Linked DNA regions of Homo sapiens: region 1 is linked to region 2. The links are contacts of gene promoters, found by promoter capture Hi-C in blood cells and fetal thymus (Javierre and others, 2016). All regions are on one chromosome and are shown on one strand. The core of a region is centred on a gene start or on the middle of the fragment in contact, and the rest is flanking DNA. Distances in the headings are between cores, read along the strand shown.

Region 1 (6,122 bases), core at 220-2,719, 380 kb after region 2:
GTGGAACTAACCCAAATACCCATCAATCAATGAGTGGCTAAAGAAACTGTGGAATACTACTCAGTAGTAACTGTGGAATACTACTCAAATGGAATACTACTCAGCCATAAAAAAGAATGAATTAATGGCATTCACAGCAACCTGGATGAGATTAGAGACTATTATTTTAAGTGAAGTAACTTAAGAATGGAAAACCAAACAGCATATGTTCTCACTCACATGTGGGAGCTAAGCTATGAAGATGCAAAGGCATAAGAAAAACATGTGGATTTGGGGGACTCAGAGGGTGAGGGATAAAAGACCACAAATTGGGTGCAGTGCATACTGCTTGGGTGATGGGTGCATCAAAATCTCACAAATCACCACCAAAGAACTTACTCATGTAACAAACACTACCTTTTCCCCAATAACCTATGGAAATAAAAATAATAATACATTTTTTAAAAAATACAAATATTTTTTAAAAACTTAAATGACTCCTGATCCTCTTTTAAAAGATTCTTGGCTGGGTGCTGTGGCTCATGCCTATAATCCCAGCACTTTGGGAGGTCAAGGTGGGCGGATCACCTGAGGTCAGGAATTCAAGACCAGCCTGGCCAACATGGTGAAATCTCATCTCTACTAAAAATACGAAAATTAGCTGGGCATGGTGGTGGGAGACTGTTATCCCAGCTACTTGGGAGGCTGAGACAGGAGAATCGCTTGAACCCAGGAGGCAGAGGTTGCAGTGAGCCAAGATCATGCCATTGCACTCCAGCCAGGGTGATGAGAATGAAACTCCGTCTCAAAAAAAAAAAAAAGATTCTCAAAATTTGGTCTGAAAGATACAACAAAATTGTCTTAGTTTCATAAAGCCAATGTTCCATATCAGAAGCTTTCATCAGATAACTACCAAAGCATTCTTTCATTTTTAACTCTAACTGTCCCTTCTGGGAGTCATCAATTTTGTAACTATGAAATCTCCCTCCCTGCTAATCACCACTCAACACCCATATACTTGTTTCCCATCAGTCAGAGGACCAGATTTGGGTATTTCTATTTTAGATAATACATGATTGATGTTCTTATACTGAGGCTTGAAACAAAAAAGATACTGAAAAACAGCCACACTAGGGATGAAATTATAAATATACATATTAAACAGTCGGTTAAATATAAAAAACTAATGAGAGAGGAAATGGGGAGATGTAGGTCACAGGATACAAAGTAGCAAGTAAGATGAACAAGCCAAAAGATCCAGTGTATAAGATGACGACTGTAGTTAATAGTAGTGTATTGTATTCAGGAGTTTTGCTAAATGAGTAGATGATAGCTGCTCTTGCCACAGGGGGAAAAATGCATAAGTATATCAGATAATGAATATGTTAATTTATTCTACCATATATATGTGTATATATATACATATGTGTACACATTTGTATACATATATCTAAAATATACACAGTAAAATTTATTTTTATAGAAAGAGCTAATGATAAATTATGCAGATAGTAAAATTTTAACCATCAATCCTTCCTCCCTGGTATGATTAATTCAGGGTCTTGGTTCAGCTCTTTTACACTGTGTTTCAATCTCGGGTCCTCTTCTAAATGAACTGTAATTTATTCATACATTCCTAAGGCAGAGATATTTGTAGTGGCAATGCCTCAGATGAAAAGACTACTTTTCTTATATTCCTTTGCAGCCAGGTGTGGCCATGTGACTGAGCTCTACTCAGTGAGAACTGTTGTGGCACGTTCTGGACGATGCCTCAGTGAGGCGATGCGCATCTTTTGCCTTTCCTTTGTCTCCTGGGAAGTGATTTTGAGGATAGAAGGTATGCGCTGAGGATGATGGGACAGAATCATGAAGCCTCCATCCAAGACTTCGCTCCTTCCTATGGATTTCTTTTATGTGGGAGAATAAATAATTGTGTGGTTGAGCCACTGTTATTTAGAGTTTTTATTATATGCTATTTATGTAAGTTTTCTTTCTCTTTCTCCTGCACATTCTTTACTCTTCATGCTCACTCTTCTTTTCTGTAATTCCTGTACTTTTGAACACTGTGAAGTGTTCTGTTTTCTGGAAGCTTTACCTTTCCTGCACACCCTACCCTCTGCAATCCACTCTGTCTCTTGCTTAGGGCCACTACTAAGTGCTCTCTTGTATCCCTGGCTGCTGTGGCTGCTTTACCAGCTCCACCATGCTGCATTCTCAACACAAAGTGCTATCCACTCTGCAGTTCTGTCATTTGCAACTAGTTCCCACTAGGAATGTCAGCTCTCAGAAGGAAGGGACAGTCTAGTCCATGGCTATATTCCTAGAACTTTGAACAGTGCTTGACTTTTAGTAACCACTTCATAAATATTTCATCCCATTTACTCAGCAAATGTTTGTTGAGCACCTAGTATGTGCCAAGTACCTTTCTAAGCACTAGGGACACATCAATGAACAAAATGGATTAAAAAAACTGCTTTCCTGTGGCACTTATATTCTACTGTGGGAGAAATAAAAATAAATAACACTAAACCAATCCATCAATGAAAAAATTAAATTAATAATCCAGCATGTTAGCAGGGAGAGGTGCTATGGAAAATCAAACAGGGCAGAGGAGATTGGCAGTCTCACAGTGCAGAAGAGGGGCAAGTAGGGAGGGGGTCAAAGTTTAATTAAAGGAGTTAAGAGTTGGCCCTTAGAGAAGGCAGTGTTTAAGCCAGAACTTGAAGGTGGTGGGAAAGGGAGCCATTCCGATATCCCAGGAACAAGCACTCCTGGCAGCTAGGACCATGAGGGAACAGCCCGTGCAAAGAGCCTGTGGCTTCAGGTAATAGTGAGGAGGATACTGAGCCTAGAGGAGAGTGAGTAGGTGGGAGGGAGGTGTAAGAAAAGGTCAGAGAGTGGCCAGGCATGGCCTGTAATTATCATGGGATTATCATGCCTATAATCCCAGCGCTTTGGGAGGCTGAGGCAGGAGAGGATCGCTTGAGGCCAGGAGTTTGAGCCCAACCTCGGCCACAGAATGAGAACCTGTCTCTAAGAAAATTAAAAAAAAAAAAATCCAGGTGTTTTGTGGTGGTGTGTACCTGTAGTCCTAGCTACTCACGAGGCTGAGGCTAGCCTGGGCAACAGAATGAAACCCTGTTTCTGAAAAGGAAAAAAAAAAGTCAGAGTTTTTTTTTTTTTTTAACGGAGTCACTCTGTTGCCCAGGCTGGAGTGCAGTGGCATGATCTCAGCTCACTGCAAGCTCCGCCTCCCGGGCTCACGCCATTCTCCTGCCTCAGCCTTCCAAGTAGCTGGGACTACAGATGCCCACCACCACGCCCGAAAAAGTCAGAGATCTTGAACCGTGTAAGTCAATCTCTGTTCTTTGGCTGTCACTCTGAGTGACATGAGGAGCCATGGCAGGGCTTAGGGCAGAAGAGAAGAGAGATAGGATGTGACTTTAACTTTAGAAGGATACTCTAGCTGCTGTGTTGGGAACACACTATAAAGAAACAAAAATGGAAGCAAAAAATTAGGAAAACTCCAACAACCCGGGTGAAAGACGGCTAAAAGCATGGACCAGGATATCGCAAAAGGTGGGGGAAATGTTCAGATTCTAGATATATTTGAATATAGAAGCAAAGGAATTTGCTGGCCAATTAGATATGGGGAATGAAAAAAGAAAGAATCAAGGATGACTCCAAGTTTTTTGGCTTGGCTCCCTGGAAAAATGATGTTGCCATTGACAAAACAGGGAAAACCACAGATGAAGCGGACTCGGAGGGAGGATTATGGTATGGCTGCATGAAGGGGGAGACTTCTATCAGACGTTCCAGCAGAGATATCCAGTAGGCAGTTGGATATATACACCTAGAGCTCAAACAAAAGTTCTGGGCCAAGAGTATAAACTTTGGAGTCATCATGAGCAGATGAATAAAGGGCTCTTTTTGTCATCACCTGAAAAATTATTTACCAAATTTCCTTCTTCAAGGAAGCTTAACATTTTGTAGCTGAAGGAATGGCTTCTGAAGAGTATGAATAAGACCATTTATAAAAGAAACCAGTCAAAACCTCACCCTATGATGCTTCCCATTCTTTCATTTTAAAGTAATGTTTCACAAAACATTTCTGAAGACCCCCCGAATCGGAATAAGATCAACTCTTGTAATAAGTACCATTATGATTCTCATGCACGCTCAAATCTGAAAACCACCCACTCTGCATGTGTAACTCTGTGGCATACAGTGTCATTTGGCAGTTCCCATTTTCATACCTGTTGTGGCCACTAACTGTAGGTCACAAACGATGGGCACAGCCTAAGGGCAGAGTCACTAGGAATCCCTGATATTCAATTCATTTTATAATAGCCATAGACTAACACATGTTAATAAGATTTATCAATATTCAAAGAAATATTTTTCCGAGCAACCTTCTGAATCATTTCCTGCATCATCTCCATAGCAACTCTGATCATTCACCTTTAAGTTGTATTTCTCTTGCTCTGAGCTATAACAACTTTGGTGTGGATGAGCATTAATGTTTCAGAAAAGATGCTGCTGTTTCTCAACCATATGTAATTCTCTGGTCTTAACATTTAGAAACCTGCATTCCCATGAGAGTTTTCCAGTTCCTTCTAATCTTGACTTTTTTTTTCTTTTACTATTTTTTGCTTGCTGATGATGTTTAAGAGCACATGAAACTATACTATAGTCTGATGAATTGGAAAGTCCTCACAAAGTATAACTGGTTACTCAGAGAAACACACCAGACACTTGAAAGGATTACACAGGTTCCCTTTCAAGAAAATGCTAATTCCAGGAGATTGCACAAACACACTTAACAGGTTCCTTAGGTAATTATTTTTAGGCTCAGATTAGCCTATAGTTACTAAATAATATTTTCAAAATTGCAGAGAAGGCATAAACCCAAAGATCTCTGCAAGTACTCAGAAGGTGTGGCCGTTGTGGCTAGCGCTCCTGCATGGCAGTTACCAGTTATGTCAGTGTGGGGTAGTCATGGTGGGGTCTCCCCCATGCTCTTGTTAGCTGTGCCTCATCTGGCTTTGTTCAGGTACATTTCTTGCCTGGCCCTTTTGGTATTGGACTTAACCATTCCTACCTAGATTCATTGTTCTTATAGGTTTAGACCCTGGAACTACATTTCCAATCTCCTATATCACGAAAAAAGAAAGAAAGAAAAGAAAAGCCACTTGACTCAGCATGCCATGCCATGGAGACTCTGGTAGAAGAGAATCTTTAGAAAGCATTTGCCCCATTTTTTACATCATAAAGCCCAAACTGTGGTATCTCTAGGGCTTTTTTTCCCAAAATTTTAATTATTTTTGACTTTAGCTTTACTGGACAAAAGATTTACATTTTAAAATATAGTAGCAATTTGTCATGTGTCTCAAATTTTAAAATGATACCACATTATACTTTTATAACTTAATCGTAGAAAACATTAATCAATTTGATACATGGGCTGCAACAAAATTTCACAAAAGAGCCCAGGGACTGAGAGTCCAGAGCAGCAATTAGAGATAATAAGGCACCATGGGGTTTTGAGAGAGCCCAAGCCTGAGGTCGCTGGCCCCGAGCATCTCTAAAACGGGCTCTGATCTGACTTTTGTAACCCAAAGAAGACAGGAGCCAGGAGGGGAGAGGGCAAATGGTGCAGAGTCAAAAAATGCAGGCTCTGATGACTTCCTGAGAACTTTCTAGGCCCAGGCTTTGGCCTTGCTTCTGGCGCTGGTGGACGAAGACCACTGCTGAGGCTGACCAAATACTGTAGTCAGAGGAGCAGGTTTCCAAGGGGCCCATCCTCTCCTCTGCCTGCAAACCAGAAGACAGCAGCACTGCCAAGTAAGGAAACACCGGCATTTTCTAATTAAACTCCTGAGCTTACAACTCTTTCTTGGCAGGCAGAAAGCTTGCAAATTATATCACTTTTTATTTCCCACTGATTACTACTAAGTGTATCAGAAAGGACTGCATAAGGATTGAGGTATCCTTTGCAATTTCTGCCTTCCACTTTATTTTGATGATACTTCATCAGATCTTGTTTCCTCCTGGGAGGCACTGGGTCTTATTCCCAAAATATTGAGGCATATGGTTGCTCTTCTTTTTCTACATGGGATAAGTAGGCCATATGTGGCCAAAGA
Region 2 (6,245 bases), core at 3,382-5,881:
GCACTTCCAAAATATCAGACAGTTATGTCTGAATGGAATCACACAAATGTATCACGAAGTCAAATATAATTTTTTTTTTTTTTAGTTTCTAAAATGTGTGGGTTCTTGTTCCTATATATAACTTTCTGTTCTTCAGAGAAGAGCCACATAGAAAGGGCAGGCATTGGTCTTATAGGGATCACCTTATAGGATCTAAACCAATACATGCCTTACACTTTACTTACAATACAGCATAAAATGCCTCTGCTAATGACTTGAGCATTGTGTTTCTTGGATCTGTGATCACTTATTATTTTAACCTTTCAAAGCCAATAGTTTTAGAGCATTCAACTCAAACGACTTTTATTGGCCTGGAAATGTTTTATTGCAGTTTGGCTGACATTTTCTTTTAATAATGTCATTAGCACTCCTTAAAAATGAATTCTGTTGGGGTATATAGTACTACCTTTGTTTTGAGAAAATGTTATGATTTTGTTTGTACATGAGGTGGGTCCCATAGCTACAAACATTAGCAATATGTTTCTGATTCAACAGAAAGATCTTTCTGATTCTACAGGCACGCTTCCATTTCTATTAAGCATAAATAGTTTGGTTGGTAAAAAGACCCGAATTTAGATGTACTTTTTCAGAATTAAGTTGAATTCTCAACATCTTTTAAGAGGGAGTCCAGCTTCTGAGTCACTAGGCTTAATTAAAATCTCTAGCACTTAGTCAGTTTATATGCCTTACCTATTTTGTAGGTTTAGCTCTCGTAACTGTTGTTATGCTGACACTGGTTTCCAGTGGGTCACTGAAATCAAATTAATGCAGGCCTCTGAAAAGTCAGACATCAATTGTGTTCATTCATTAAGATTCCCATATTTTAAAAGGTACAAAATAAGGAAAAGTGATTCTGTTTAACCTTGAAGTATCCTGAATGGATGGACATAGACTACGAGCATTTTAGTGGAAAAATAAAAATTATTTGTAAGAAAAATCCTAAAGAACAAAAACCAAAAGCAAAATAAGAACAAAATTCCTTTCTATACCAATTCTTTTCTGAATACGTAAAGACTCAAGGTCCAAACTCCATTTCCTAGGCCTTTGGAAATGCTTTTAGAGCGTACTCAATACTGTACATTCTGTACTACTATCGAGAGCACTCAATTTCTTGTGCATTCAATTTCTTGGTCCAAGTGCGGTAGTTCTCAAAGTCTGGTGTCCACCATCAGGCCTAGGAACCTGCTAAAAGTGTCAAGTCTTGAGCCTCACTCTAGACATCCCAAACTAGAAACTTGATGGGTGGGGCCTGCAATTTGTGTTTTAACAAGTCCTCAGCCGGGCGCAGTGGCTCACTTCTGTAATCCCAGCACTTTGGGAGGCCGAGGCGGGTGGATCACGAGGTCAGGAGTTCAAGACCAGCCTGGCCAAAATGGTGAAACTCCATCTCTACTAAAATTACAAAAAATTAGCTGGGCGTGGTGGGGGGGGTGCCTGTAAGCCCAGCTACTAAGGAAGCTGAGGCAGAGAATTGCTTGAACCCGGGAGACAGAGGTTGCAGTGAGCTGAGATCGTGCCACTGCACTCCAGCCTGGGCAACAGAGTGAGACTCCATCTCAGAAAACAAAACAAACAAACAAACAAAAAACAAAAACAAGTCCTCCAGGCACTCTTTGGTTTGCTCTAAAGTTTGGGAACTTCTGGCCTAGAGCATTGTTCTCAAGTATTTGTGTACACCTACACCACAAGCTCCTGGAGAAGCTTGACTTAACATGAGTCTCTCACTCAGGCCGTGAGATTTGGAGGCAGTAAATGCAGGAAGCTGTGTGGGAATCTGTATATATATATATATAAAGTAGGTGATTCTGGTGCAGGTGGTCTGTAGAACACAATTTGAGAAATTCTGCCTTGAAGTGGAATTTAAGTGTTGACAAAATTAGCATTTCCCCCCACAAAATCCTCCTCCATAACTAAGCAAAAACCTTTGAACTCTGACTTACAAATATCTATAGCTTTCACTTAGCCTGCAGAGTGCCTGCTTCTGAAGAGCTATGCAGGCTTCCCTCATCACTGCCATAGGGGACTGAAGCTTCTGTGTGCTCCAGGTGTGAGGCTTTGCCTGCCTCTGCTACAGGTGTGCACCTGTTTCAACACAGGGATGTATGCTCAAAGGATGCGGCATAACCCACACCTCCACAGAATGTACAGTATTGAGTATGCTCAGCCAAGACAAAACACAAGGAGAGATGTCATTTTTATTTGCCCTGAGATGATAGCTGGAGGAAGACTGCTTTGAGCAAAGAGGTTTGATCCCTGCATATCCTGCCAGAGGAATACCCTGTTCTAAGCAAGGTGACCTTTCAAGCAAGTTTTGAGAATTACTGATTTAGTATGCAAGGTATGCATAAATATATCTAACTGTGATTTGGGGTCAGACACACACTGCATATCTTTTTTCCATTGAACCTTTTATAGATCAGAGGTGAAAAAAGAGATTTTTTAATGCAGAAAGGTGAAGTTTGTGATGGCAAAAAAAGGGATTACTTGTGATTTTATTAAATCAGTCATATGTTTTCTTCAAGGTATTGGGACCAAATTCATGCATTAATAACATTACTTTGTTTTCATTGTATTTGTTTTTATTGTCATCTGACATTTAAGGCAATTAATACTGTATTTCTACTTATGTTAATAATAAAAAATACCTTTAAATAATTTTATTCCAGTAAAATGTATGAATTAATTTAAAGGAAAATGTTAAGTAAATATTAGTGCAGATGGCAATATTCTGAAGATGCCACATGAATAATCAAAGTGTGGGAAACCCTGACATTATTTTCATGAGTTCAGCATAATCCATTTTACCACTTTTCCAATGCTGAGCTTTATATTTGTTTTCTGTTATAAACAGTGCTTCAAAAAACCTCTTGTAGCTAAATATTTTTCATATCCATAATGGTTCTCTTAGGAGAATTCACAGATGTGGAATTGTTGGAAGAAAGGGCAATAATTATATTATTTTAAAGTTTAAAATTAGTGTCCATTAACCATTTCCCTAAGATTTTATGAAGACATTTAGGAAGTTAGTAAAGCAGTATTTATGACCTACGGGAATACTTTCTTCCTTGTTACTCAAAGGGTTGCTTAAGGCAGTGGCCTTCAAGTGTGTTCTGGGACCAAATGACAATTTCTCCCCAACCAGCAAAGCCCTGTGGTGGGGAAAAGGCTTGGTGGAAGATCTGGTTTGTAGTTAATGTTAAGTAACCTTTCCACTTAATTAGCTTTGTGATCTCGTGCAAGACACAACTTCTCTAAGCTATAATTTTCTCATCCAGAAAATTATACTGAAAATAATACTTTGTTTATCTCACCAAGTTGTGAAGATTAAATAGAGTGATATGTGTGAAAATAGCTTGTAAATGAAGCATGATGTAAAATGTTATTGGTATTATGAAAGCCCAATATATGTTCTCCTCTTGAGAGATTCTTAAAGCACAATTCTCTGACTTCACAGATACGTCGTCTGATGCAATACAGATACTTTTTAGTATCATATGGGGTTAGCGTCTAGAAAAAGTGAAGGGTATGAAATAATGAAGAATGAAATTCCAGTGAGACTCTATTTCTTTACAGATTGCTCCTCCCTGTCCCTTACTCAACACTAGAACCTGGTATAGCGCTGTAATCAATACTCTGTGTGTGTGTGTGTGTGTGTGTGTGTGTGTGTGTGTGTGTGTGTGTGTGTGTGTGTGTTTTAGACAAGGTTTCATTCTGCCGTCCAGGCTGGAGTGCAGTGGTGCAATCTCAACTCATTGCAGCTTCGATATCTTGGGTTTAAGCGATCATCCCCTGTCAGCCTCCTGAGTAGTTAGAACTACAGGCACGCACAACTACGCCCAGCTAATTTTTGTATTTTTTGTAGAGATAGGGTCTCACTATATAGCTCGGGCTGGTCTCAAACTCCTGGGCTCAAGTGATCCTCCCACCTCAGCCTCCCAAAGTGCTGGGATTACAGGCATGAGCCATCTCGCCCTGCCAACACTAACTCTGGACTTTCATTTGAGCTTTGCTGCTTATCATCAAATCTCAATGAAAACATTAGTTGCTCAGAAGTCACCTTACTTGTTAATCTAGAAATGGTCTGGTGGCTCAGGATTTCTGAGTCTGGGCTGGGACCAGAGCCAGCTACTCCTGGCACCTGTGTTGCTGGGGAAACATGATCTTCACTGAGACTCTGTTCTCTTCCCATAATGTACATTATCCAAATGGTCTCTTGTTGTGGGTGGATTCGGGTAAAAATTGTCTTCACCACGTGGGGCCTCAGTTTCCTCATCTGCAAAAAAAAAGGAGTTAGATGAGAATCTGGTCACTAGCCGGTCTTCTAGGTCTCTCCCCACAGTTAAGATCCCATAATTCTGCAGGTCAGTTTATGACCTGCAAAGGGATTCTTCCCTGAGGGCCCTCACAAGGTTTTGAATGGCAGAGCAAATGGAAATGGGGGAATGTCCTTCCCAACCTCCCACCATGGGCAGGAGAGGAAGTGTTGTCCAAGAGGGCCTCAGCTGGACCATCTGGAGGAGTGAGGATTCCACTCTGTGACATCACAATATCCAGCCCAGGTTTGACCTTGACAACTGGGAAGGAGAAATAACAGGAGGCGCAGTTACTGATATAGCCAAGGTGGGACACTACTGGAGGGAGCTAGAAGGGATCAGCCAGCCATGCCTCCAGTTCAGGTACTTGGCATTGCTAAGCTCAGAACAGGACTTGCCAGTGTCTAGATGAAAAAGAGGAGAGATCTCAAGGTGAGTGTGTCTCCAAGCTTAAGAAGAATAGTATAAGCACAGACGGCTTGTGCCCCAGCTGCGTTAGGGTAATGTAAGGTTCCACACGAGCAGAAGCAGAGCTGGGCGCATCTTGCCAACAGCCAGGCTGCTTGCCATGAAGCCGGACGGTGAGGACATTTCCGAGGCTGTAGTCCACTTGTGCTGCTGGTGATATATTTCTATTTAGAGGTTTTTTTCTTTCAATAGCTCCTCCCCGGATGACAGGGTAGAGTAAACAAAAATAAGTTAACTAAGGAAGTATTTTAATAGAAGCCAGTACAAAAACAAACAAAAGTAATAAAAGGTGCAAAGTTGTATTATGGGTTAGCAAGCAAGACTGACTCTAAGGTCAAGTTTTGAAAGTTCAAATCTTGAAAGGCAAAAGGATACCCCTATAAAGAGTAAAAGAGAAGGGCCTTTTGGTTGAGAAGTAAGTAAAACAGCTCTGCTGGAACATATACCGGACCCCCCACCCCGCCCCCAGCAACTCCTGCCAGTGAAATCATTGCTGGGGATGCGGACAGTTCTGTTTTCTTTACCTTGCCTTGGGGTTTTGGCTTCTACAATACTTGTTTCTTCCTGGAGTCTTGGGGCCCTGAGAGGCTCTGAGTGACGGCAAAGAACTGTTCTGTTTACCAGTGGGGCGGAGCATGGGGCCAGCGCCAGGCCCTGACTCATCCCCATGTGGACTCCCTTGGGTCTTAGCACACTGCGACCCCGGAGTTGGAGCACAGGACAGCTCAGGCAGGCACGCTGAGCTCTGCCTGCAAGGTCAGAGTTGATGGCGATGCTCCCTCAGTGGGAGTAAGAGTCCATGTTCTGACAGGTAGGTCAGTTACCCACAGGGGACCCCAACAGCCATCGACAAGAAGAGGAGGAGATGGATTCTCTATCCACAGGACACAACTCTAACTCTCCTTGGCCTCCAACACATCACGAATAAATATATCACAGCAGTAAGGTCAATACTCTCACACTCTATGAAAGTAGTAATAGTCCCCAAAGCATGTAAAACTGAGAGATCCAGATAAAAGCAAAATATACTTGCACATAAACTTCATAGCACACATTCAACTTCTGTACAGAAGTCACTGTGATTTTCACAATTAGGTTATGATCTAATCATAACCACTTAAGACTTGAACATTAAAATCTCATTGGCCCAGTTTTTAGGCTTCCTTCATTGATAGCCATTGAAAACTAAGTTTAAGCTGAACCTCAGATAATACCCACAAAACACAGAATGTCCTAACTCATCTCCATTTGCATTTGTTGACTGTAACGTTCCCTGATCCTTGTGTTAGTCACATGCTGCTGCAGCCTGTCGCATACTGCAGAATTTTAGAGTCGGAGGGGAACTAGAAGATCATCCATTCCACAGCTTCGTTTCCAGGAGAAACCACACAGAGAAGTGTCTCAGCTAAGGGTATCAAGCTAGTT

Evidence for each region. The method cuts DNA at HindIII sites, captures the fragments that hold promoters and counts their contacts. A CHiCAGO score of 5 or more calls a contact.
Region 1: a fragment that was not itself captured here is called in contact with the fragment with the promoter of DNAJC5B in region 2 in 1 of 17 cell types (endothelial precursors); the score reaches 6.1 in endothelial precursors.

The regions. Positions count from the first base shown.
Region 1 is chr8:66,397,283-66,403,404 of GRCh38, forward strand. All of the region lies in intron 1 of LOC102724687 (a long non-coding RNA gene), which reads right to left. Among named protein-coding and RNA genes, the nearest start is that of RRS1-DT, 29 kb to the right of the region's middle. The HindIII fragment of the contact is 1,194 bases long and covers 873-2,066 here.
Region 2 is chr8:66,016,922-66,023,166 of GRCh38, forward strand. It overlaps DNAJC5B (DnaJ heat shock protein family (Hsp40) member C5 beta), which reads left to right and starts at 4,632. Exons shown (of 6, transcript NM_033105.6): 1 at 4,632-4,784. It overlaps LOC105375883 (a long non-coding RNA gene), which reads right to left and starts at 4,560. Exons shown (of 7, transcript XR_929008.3): 1 at 4,503-4,560; 2 at 4,102-4,312; 3 at 730-814. The HindIII fragment of the contact is 2,733 bases long and covers 2,067-4,799 here.